Linked DNA regions of Homo sapiens: region 1 is linked to region 2. The links are contacts of gene promoters, found by promoter capture Hi-C in human tissues and cell types (Jung and others, 2019). All regions are on one chromosome and are shown on one strand. The core of a region is centred on a gene start or on the middle of the fragment in contact, and the rest is flanking DNA. Distances in the headings are between cores, read along the strand shown.

Region 1 (4,864 bases), core at 1,625-4,124, 140 kb after region 2:
TGGAGCCACAGGGACCCCTTGACTCATAGTCACCTCTCACACATGGAACCACATGGACCCCTCTGCTCACAACCACCTCTCATGCATGGAACCACATGGATCCCTCTAGTCATAGCCACCTCTCATGCATGGAAGCACATGGACCCCTGTAGTCATAGCCACCTCTCATGCATGGAACCACATGGGCTCCTCTGCACACACCCACCTCTCTGCATGGAACCACATGGATCTCTGCCCCACTGCGTACCCCAACTCTGCCCCACTGCGTACAGTATTGGGAGCTGTAATTATAAAACTGCCCAGCCAGTTTGATAACCCAACTTATATGTGGATGCTGAGAGAATGGGCCTGTTTGGGATCAGGAATAGTGATTGACCTCACTTGCAGAGATGGTTTCATTCGTGTGAATTATAAACCAGCCCTGAGGCAGTGTTCTACTTGTTTCCAGAAATGCTTTGAGCTCTGGTAGCATTGTGAGGATAAATGCATAAAATTCCCAGGGAACCAGTTTGATGGGGACAGTGCTCACTTGCCTGCTGGAGTTTGTTATAAACCAGCATTGTGACTTTATTGTCACTCTCCACTCCTTTTTTCTTGTTGGATCTTCTAAGATCTAAACCTTTGCCTCCTCCATCTCCTTTCTTGTTTCTCCTTCCTTTCTGGGAAGCAGAAAGAGCATGAATGTCAGAGTCAGACTGGCAATGTAATCCTGAGCAAGCTCCAACCCCTGAGCCTTAGTTTCTTTATCAGGAAGATGGCATAACAATATCCACTTTGAAAGGCAGTTGTGGAACCAAGCAAGGGAACTTCCATTAACGTGCAGGCACATACTCAATAACATGCCTGCCTCATTCCATTCTACCCTCTCCTTCGCCCTTGCTCCCAAAGCCCCATATACCCTCTCCCCATTCAGTGAGGACTGCCACTGACATGGTGTCCACGTCCTGGGAGCAGTAAGGGTGGGGAGAAGCAGAAGCGCGGTGAGTGGATATGTCCCGACCCTCATCCAACACAAACATCTGCCTGGGAGTTGACAATTCCCTTCCTGAGTAATCCTCTGGCACTAGGGCTCCTGTCCTGTTCTTAGGGAACATGCTCCTGGGCCTGGCCCTGCCCACTGCCTTCCTGGGATGGGAAGTGTGAAGACCCTGGAAGGCTGAGGCCCTGCCAGGGGTGCCTGAAGCTTGTCCTGCTCCGATGGCCCTGTCTTCCCTGTCCACTGGGCTGGGAGGCAGGGAGGAGGTCCTGGGGAGGTCTAAGGACATGTTTTCATCACATATGCAGCTGCTGTGCCCACCCCAGGCAGCGGGCCCTTCCTCCCTCTATCCCCAGACGTTTGAACCTTGACACCATGCCTATCTTGGGAGACCCCTTCCTTCTCCTGTCCTGACTGCTCCCTCCAGCCATGTCTTTCTCTTCCTTGATGGCTGTCCATAGAACCAGAAGTTTTAGAGTTCAAAGCTTATCTCCTCCCACTCATTTTACCACGTTGGAAACTGAGTCCCAGGAAAAGGAAATCACTTGCCCAAGTTTAAGCAGTGAAGTAGTGGCCCAGATGGGGTTGAAACCCAAGACTCTTGAGTCTTAGTTCGGAGATCGGTCTATTACACCCCAGGCTCCTTCATCCCTCAGTCTAGCTCAGGGCCTCTCACCTGTGGTACTATTGGCATTTGGGACCAATACAATTGCTTGGGACCACCACAACAATTGCTTGTTGTGGGGGTCTGTCCTGTGTATTGTAGGATGTTTAGCAGCATCTTTGGCCTGTACCCACTAGACACCAGTAGTATTTCCTCCAGGTGTGATAACCCCAAATATCTGCAGTATTGTCACACATTCCCTGGGGGGCCCTGGCTACCTGGGGGTGCTCCTCTTTCCTCTAACCTCTCATCTTTGTGATCTCACCTGTCCCACCTGCAGGGTGTGAAGTAGTCTTTCACTGGAGACACTCTGTTCTGTTTCCTCCTTCTGTTCTGGGACCCGGCTGCTTGGAAACCAAAGCACTCAGCCATTCTGTTCTTTACGAGGAAGAACAAAGAGCCAGGCCAGGAATGTTGCTTTATACCTACGAATGAAAAGAAAGAACTTGACAGGAAGGGACTAAGCCTTGGAGGGGGTGACCAGGGAGGCTGGGCCCCCTTCCTCCCTGGAGAGACCCCTCAGTGTGGGTGAGGGGCCCTGGCCACCTGGCTCCAGCTGTAGGTCTGCTGGCTGGAAGGATGGTCTGGAGGGAATGGGGGCATTTGCTTGACCTACAGTTGGGAAGTGTGTCTTCATTGTAGAATTGTCCACCAATATCCTACTTTCCTCGCACAGCTAGACCTGCAGACATTTGTGGTTCTTCTGTAATGAGAGTTCACAGTCTCTGAGCACCCATCTCATGGCATCTGACTGAGATCTGGCAGTGGGGAGGACTCCCTCTGAGAGCCAGGGGCCCTGGTGGCAATCTCACTCCAGCACTGACCATGTGTGACAGTGGGAAACTCTTCCCTTCGCTGACTTGGACAGATGAAATCGGGTGGGTGGGTTGGGCCCAATGAACTCACAACATCCTCTGGCTTGACCATGCGGGGATTCTAGGAAATTGCCTGGGCTGACTGCCCACAGTGCGGTGCCATGTGGCAAATCTGGGGTCTTGAAGAATCCTTGGCACCTGAGAAGTTTCCAGAAGGTATCCAGACCCACCCTCCTACCTCTAGAACTTGTGTTTTATGAAACTGCCCTGCTCAGGGCCACCTCAGGGGGTACAGGGGATACTGGGCTGCCTCTGAAGACAGAGTAATACCATCATCTTTCAAGCTTAGTTTAACCCACCCACTATTGGGAAAGACTTTTCTCCTGCTATTTCCTGTAGTTTGTTTTAAGAAAAAAAATTGTCTTTTTTTTTCCCCCAAATAGAAACATGGTAAGACGAAGTGTATTCTTTTTTGAACCAGATTTGCCATGCCCTGCCCTCTGCCCAAGCCCCCAGGAAGTCCTTTCCTATTTATGCATGCAGCTGAGGTTGTGCCCGTCCTTCTCTCCTTGTGGTCCTTGAGGCTGAATTCATCTCTGCAGGTGGAAGTGGCAATGCATTTTCAGGCACACCATTGGCAGTAATCAGTGTTGGGATAGGCTCAGTATTTGTTAATGGAATGGCATCACATCCTTGTAGTCTGCACCATTTTGGAAGCCTCTTCTCTATGCTGGCCATTCCAGGCCATGATTTTTGAGCAGAGATCGGGTGGGCCAAATTGTATGTCCTGAAGCTTAAGCACTGGGTGTGATACATATGGGCTGGTGAGATAGGGTCACAGAGGTACTGCTCAGGGGGCACAGGGCTAGGGAAGGGAGACGGGGAAGCCCACGCTGCACTACTCGTGTTCTGTCCTTTGGAGCACTTCTGTGTTCTGTACACTGTGCTGAGAGCTTTTCATGTGTTATATCAGTCTTTGCACTACTTACTGAGATACAATGACTAGTATACCCATTTTACAGATAAGGAAACTGAAGCTCAGCCAAGTAATTGGCTCAGGGTTGCCTTAAGCTAGTAGTTGGTAGTATCTGTATTCAAACCAATGTCTGACTTCCAAGTCCATGTTCTTAACCTGGCAGATGCTGAAGTGATGAGAATGAGAAGGGCCAGGCATAATCTTAGGCTGCATTAACAAAAGCATGGTTTCCAGAAAATGGGAGGTGACAGGCCTGTTGTGCCTCTTTTAAGTCAGAGCGCCCACATGGGCTGTTTGTGGGTCCCTTGCTTCAAAGTGATAAAGAACGACTGGAAGCAAGTGCAGAGAAGCAACCAGAAAGTATGTCAGGCTCAGGGACTTGCAGGGAGAGGGGTTGCCTGTCAAAGGGGAGATTCAGGAGGGCAGGCACGTCTCATTCAGTATCTGAAGGGCTCTAGCGAGGGGGCGATTGGCTTGTTCTGACCCACTCCATCGGGCACTGTAAGGCCAGTTAGTGGAAAAGAGGGCTCCAGGGTGTTTTTTCCTATGTTGAGCTAAAATCCACTGTTACGGCCCCCTAAAGATGAGCTGGGCTTTTGGAGGAAGACAGTAAAATCCCTGTACCTGGAAGAATTTGAGTACAGCTAGGAACAGTTTTTGCCAAACCTGACTCTCTTATTATTTGCAGCTGGGGAGCATTTTCAAATTCAAAGTCCCAGGCCCCATTCCAGACAGTTTTGCCTCTGTGTGGAGCCAGGGGATCGGGGTTCTTATAAAACTCCCTGGGGGCTTTCTAGTATAGCTAGTCCCCCTGGATGATAGTGGAGAACCATCAGATGGGGTTGCCACTGGCAGGAACTATTGTGTGGTAGTGTTTTCCAAAGTAAGGTTCAGGTTCCAAAGTATGGTCAGACTGCTAATTATATATGAACTGATATTAGGTATATTTATTTTGATGTGTATTGGAAAAAAAGGTATGTATTTTGCACATTCAATCTGGGACATCATGGATATTGTGCTTAGAACTAGTTTAAGTTAAATGAAGTTTATTTTTATAACTTACAAAATAATAATGTAGATGATATTCAGATGGACAAATAAACATGAAGGTTGCGTGCAAACAAAATCTCTGCTAATACTGTTGTGGGTTGGTTGGGGTGGGGACAAGTGGGTGAACTGGGGTGCCTTAAACCTTTCAAGAGCCCGAGGTTTGTTGGTTAGTTCTAGAAGACTCTATGGAGGTAGGAGGATAATTGCAATAGTTTGTCCAAACTGTGGTCTTCCCCAGGTGGAGCCTGAGGCATAGAACCCCTCTGCTTCCCCTCCCCTGGTCTCCTTATTTTTAGTGGTCTCTTTGAAGTCTGTGACACCGAGCTGTCCCATTTTATCTCATCAGTGAAGATAGGTCAGTGGCCAGGGTACAGGGCACTGGG
Region 2 (5,225 bases), core at 887-3,386:
TGGGCACTGGGATGTCAGGGCTTAGCTGGCTGAAGGCTTGAACTTGTCAGGGGACAAGGGCAGCCTGGCAGAGCTGGTGATAGTGGCTGAGGAGGGGCTCAGGGGCTCTCAGAGAGGCCTCCTGAAGACCACTCCCCTTTGCTTGCCTGGTGCTCCAGCCAGGGGAGACGGGAGGGTTTGCAGAGGTTTCTGTCTATGGACATCCCCAGCTGTGACTGCAGGGCCAACTGCATGTGGAACACTGGTTCATTTCAGCGTTGGCTAAAATGTCAGTGAAGCCCCAGGAGGCTTAGAGTAGGGGGTCCAGAGGGACATTGTGATCCTGGCAGGGAAGGACACTAGAGGCAGGATCTTTCCCAGCCCCAGAGCTCTGGAGGACTTGGAGAAGTATGGAGAGAGGACCCTGACTCCTCTACCGGAACAAAGACTCTTCACTCAGGTACCTGCTTTAGGAAGGGCTGGAAATTGACACTTCACTTCAGTGTCCTCCCCTGACTTCTCAGAACCACCAAACAATAGATGGTTAGTCCCTTGTGCTGTGGACAACCTGTGTATCTGAATACTGCAGTCTTTTTTTCAGATGAAGAGTCAGTGTTTCCCCTTCATTCTGGGGTTTCCCAGGTAGATGTCTTGGGTGGTCCCTGGGCTGGGAGTTGGCACAAGTGGCTGGGCAGATCCCTGTGAAAGAGGAGGCTGGTAGTTGCACGGTATGTGGTGCTGACAGACAGCGGCATGGCATGGCCTTGGGTGAGTGGGGGGGGGAGGCAGGGGATCTGTAACCCTTCGTGCATGTGGCCCCAGGGCATGTATAGCACAGTGTGCATAGGAGGCCAGGCAAGAGAACTTTTCTTGCTAAGTGACTCAGTCTAGGAACGAGGTCTCCAAGTGCCTACTCTGGGAGGGCTCTTATGTGTTGACGTGAGTTGGACTGTGTCCTTGTGTGTGTGTGTGTCCACAGGAGGGTGTGGGGCTGAGCCCTCCCTCCTTCTCCTGGACAGCTCCAAAGAACAGAGCGGGTGATTCACTGGCCCCCACCCACCCTCAGTTGGTCCAGCCAAGGCCAGAGCTCAAAGAGGAAGGGTTTTTTTTGGAGGGGAACGTGGTGGTTCCAGACAATGAAGGCCTGGGGCAGACTTTGCTGGATTCCCCCTTAGTGCTCCGTGGGAATACTTTTGGGTTTTGACCCAGCCTCCTTTCCACCCTCTAGACCCCCAACAATTGTCCCTGGGCAGAGGTGGGGGCGAGGGGAGGGGAGGGCTGGTGGGCAGGGGACACTGAGGGGAAGAAATAGGCCTGTGGAATGGTGGGAGGGGAGAACTGGGCCCAGGGAGGGGGAGAGGGGAGGAGGGGGAGGAAGTGGGGAAATGCAAACCAAATGTTGGCCCCGGGTACAGTCAAGAAAAACACACTCTCGCGGGAGCCTGGAGCGGGGCTCCCTTTCAGAAGGGCAGGAAAGGCTGGGACAGATGTTTGCAGGAAAGAAAGAAAGAAGGGGGAAAAAAAAAGAAATAGGAAAAAAATTGGAATGAAACCCACAGCCTGGGGGCAGGGCCATTCTTCCCCAGTCTCGGGCCCTATTTCTTCTGTGTTAAGGCCTGTCCTGGGCTCTGAGCTTGGCGCGTGGGCACCAGAGTCTGTCCCAGTCTGTGTGTGCAAATGCATGTGTGTTCCGAGGAGGCCAGGAAGGCAGGCACGGGTACTCAGAGAAGGGGAGGGGCCAAGGCACCCTGAGTGTGCTGATTGTGTGGGCCTGGGGCTGTCTGTTCATCCATCAGTGGTCTGGAGGGTTCCAGGAGTGAAGGCCCCCAGGCTGGTTTGCCAGGGGCGGGGGTCTGCAGTGAGGAGGGAGGACTCCAGGCCTACCAGCACCAGATCAGAAGACTGAGGAGCCTTGGTGGCACACAGGGGTTGTGTGTCCGGGGGTGGGGGGCACGGCCTGGGGGGGCCCTGCCTCTGGTAGCTTTCCCTTTTCCCTGTCCCCTTTACACCCCCTGCAAAGCAGGGTTCCTGACCCTCAAGGCCACCGGTGGAGCCTGGGAGGAGGGAGGAGAGAGGAGGCTGGGACGAGGGGTGGAGTGGGGGGAGGAGGAGGAGGAGGGAGGGTGAGCTGGAGGCAGCAGGGCGAGAGGCCCAGCAGATGCTGGCGGAGCCGGAGCAGCCGCGGACTCAGAGAGCCCTTCTGCCAGCGCCGCGGGGACTCTAGCTTCAGGGGCTCTTCACAGGCCCTGGGCGTGCCTCAGTGACGGGACCCAGCAAAGATGACGTGGATCTGTCTGTCCTGCATGCTCTGGGTAGGTCTGGCTGCTTTAGCTGCGACGTTACTCTTCCTCAAACCCCCCGCCCCCCACCGGCCCCTGCCACCTTATCCTTTTGCTGAGAGCCCGGGGTCGGGGGGTGTCAGTCTTGAAGGAGGGGCCTTTCTGTCTCTGACCTACAGAAGGACAGACTGACTTGAGCAACCCTCAGCCGGAAGACTTTCCCCACCAACAGGGCCCAGGCCCAGGGTCCCGGGTCAGTACATCCCCTGCCCCACCCCCCCACCCCCCAATGGAGTCCCAGAGCTGTAAGTGGAAGGAGGCCACAGAGAAGTTTGCTTCTCTTTAGAGCCTTTCCTCCCGACTTGCATCCTACAATGGGGTGAAAATTCTTCACCGCCCCCCCTCAGTTGCTGAGCCCAAGATCTTGAGGAGGAGGCAGTGGTGGGGCTGGGGAGCAAAGAATAGTAGTCCAAAATATTAAGTCTGGAAGAGCTGGGCTGTGGGAGAATTCTCAGAGTCCATCCCTTTTATTCCTTCTACACCCAGTTTCAGCTTCCACCCACTGCCATCCCTTCCTCCACAGCCCTCCCCTGCTACCAAGACCTCTCCATCCTGGAGGAGGGAGCCATGGCCCGCTCTTCCCCCTTTCTCTCTTGGCTCCAGGTTCAGGGAGGTGGGTTTCAGGATGGGGATGCCAGGGGGGCCAGCAGAGAGGCCTGGGGGCCACGTGGTGAAGGTTAAAAGTCTTAAGGCCAGACCTGGGCTGAGGCTCCTGGGTAAAGGGGGATGGGAGAGGGCTGCCTGCTGCAGAAGGGCTGGGGGTCAGAGGAGGAGAGGACCCCTTCCTCAGAGGGGCTCCTGTGGGGCTGTCTTGGCCAGGCAAAGGCATGCATGGGGTCAGGAGGGTGAGGAAGTCGTCCCTGGCTGAGGTTACTGTTGGGCTCTGAGAGAGTGATGGCTGGTTTGGGGGAGGGGGCTTCAGGGCTGTGATCCAGATGTGGCCTTTCCTGTCCCTTTCCTTGTTCTGGCCAGTCCTCGGGAGGGCCCTCTTGGCCCAGGCAAGCCCATGCTGGGGGCAGTTGTGGGAACACAAACTCGGGCAGCCAGGTGTCCTCTGGGCAAAGAAAGAAAGGGTGGGGGAGGGGGCCTGGAATGAGGCGGTTTGGGTGGCATGTTGGGCTGGGGTGCTGGGATGGATTGGATTAATAGATTGAGAGTGACTGGGGAGGCCTGCACACAGGATGCATTTGTGGTTTACTGGGCTGGTGTTGACATCTGGGAAATGGGAGCCTTGGCCAGGTTCGTCTCTGTGCTGAGGACAGAGGTAGGCAGGAGGGAGCTCTGCAGCAAGAAGGATGGCAGGTAGACGTCCAGGGGTGACACAAGAAGGATGGCAGGTAGACCTCCAGGGGTGACGAGCTGCTGTGACTGGAGAGAGGGCTCTATAGATCCCTTCAGCTGACTGATACTGGGAAAAGTGCCTCATCCTGGTGAGCCTCTGCTTTCCCGTTGGTGAAATGAGGATTGCAGAGAAACAGGGTACAGAGAGGTAGGGATGAAATTTTGTATCCAATTCCCCAGGGCAGTGCCTGGCAGGTAGAGTGCCCTATGGGTGTTATACCCTCCCTGAGAGTAAGGGGAAGAGTCTGGGGACCAAGGCAGCTGTGAGTGCTGCTTCCTTGAGTGTCTTTATTTTTATTTATTCATTTTTTTTTTAATTGAGATGGAGTCTCACTCTGTCACCCAGGCTGGAGTGCAATGGCATGATCTTGGCTCACTATAACCTCTACCTCCTGGGTCCAAGCAATTCTCCTGCCTCAGCCTCCCGAGTAGCTGGGACTACAAGTGCGTGCCAACATGTCCAGCTAATTTTTTATATTTTTAGTAGAGATGGGGTTTCATCGTGTTGGCCAGGCTGGCCTCGAACTCCTGACCTCAAGTGATCCTCCCGTCTCAGCCTCCCAAAGTGCTGGGATTATAGGTGTGAGCCACTGCGCCTGGCCTTGAGTGTCTTTAAGACTAGAAAAGCCTGTGTCCCTCCCCTGTCTCCTTTTCCTCTCCTCTCCTAGTCCCCATCCTTTCTAGGCTGGCTGTGATGCCCATGGCCAGGATGGGCCAGAGACTGGGGCAGTAGGGACTGGACAGAGGAAGCAGTCCTGGCACCAGATAGGACTAGGCTCAAACCCTATTTCCATCGTTTGGTATGGGCAGGCTTGGTAAAGCAGTTCCCTTCATGAGCCTCAATTTCTTGATCTGTAAAGTGCAGAGAATAATATACTCCTTGTATGGCTAGGGTGGGGAAAGAGACAATAGATATCAAAAGATCAGGTATGTAGGCATGCAGTAGGTGCTCAGCAAATGCTGGCCCCTTTCCCACTCCACAGTCTCCTGCCTGGTTCTTGGGATCCTCTGTATCCCAGACCTGATGCTGGGGGAGGATCTCCCTGGGAATGGTGTCATGGGACAGGGCTCTACTCCTTGGGCTCTACTCCTGGGCTGACTGCCCAGGGACTCTGACCAGCTACTCTGAGGCCAGGAAGTGACTGAGATAGTTCTTGTGCCCTAGAGTGAGTGCTTGCATCTATTGGTTCACATGTTCCTGTATGGGGAAAGCTGCAATTGTGTCATCTAAGAAGTAATATATCTGTAGTGCATAGTTTTAACAAGTCCTAGGAATAAAAATCACTTTATTAGCTGAGGAGCAGAGCTATTTATTATGCATAACTTGATTTTCTCATCAAGTGCTCCCATTTGCTATTACATATTCAAGTACGGTTTATTTAGAAAATAATTGCATGCCTAGCAATTGAGGCTTTTTGATGTTGTGCTGGAGGAGTTAGAGGTGGAGGCCCTTCCTTCCAGAGGGACTCACTGGTCCTCAGGAACTGGGAAGGGGCTCAGGGTGAGGCTGAAAGAGCCACCAGGCAGGGGCTGGGGGTCAAGTGCAGCTTTGGCTCTGCCCTGAGC

What was found. Contacts are between HindIII fragments. The study calls those that stand out against the background at their distance.
Region 1: a contact is called between a fragment that was not itself captured here and the fragment with the promoter of TNS1 in region 2, in 5 of the 25 tissues and cell types used here (IMR-90 fibroblasts, bladder, mesenchymal stem cells and 2 more).

Annotation. Positions count from the first base shown.
Region 1 is chr2:217,860,299-217,865,162 of GRCh38, reverse strand. All of the region lies in intron 18 of TNS1 (tensin 1), which reads left to right. Among named protein-coding and RNA genes, the nearest start is that of SNORA115, 29 kb to the right of the region's middle. The HindIII fragment of the contact is 3,104 bases long and covers 1,323-4,426 here.
Region 2 is chr2:217,999,906-218,005,130 of GRCh38, reverse strand. It overlaps TNS1 (tensin 1), which reads left to right and starts at 2,136. Exons shown (of 33, transcript NM_001387777.1): 1 at 2,136-2,291. The coding sequence starts at 2,259. RefSeq lists enhancers at 851-950, 2,691-3,191, 3,192-3,692. The HindIII fragment of the contact is 30,357 bases long and covers 1-5,225 here.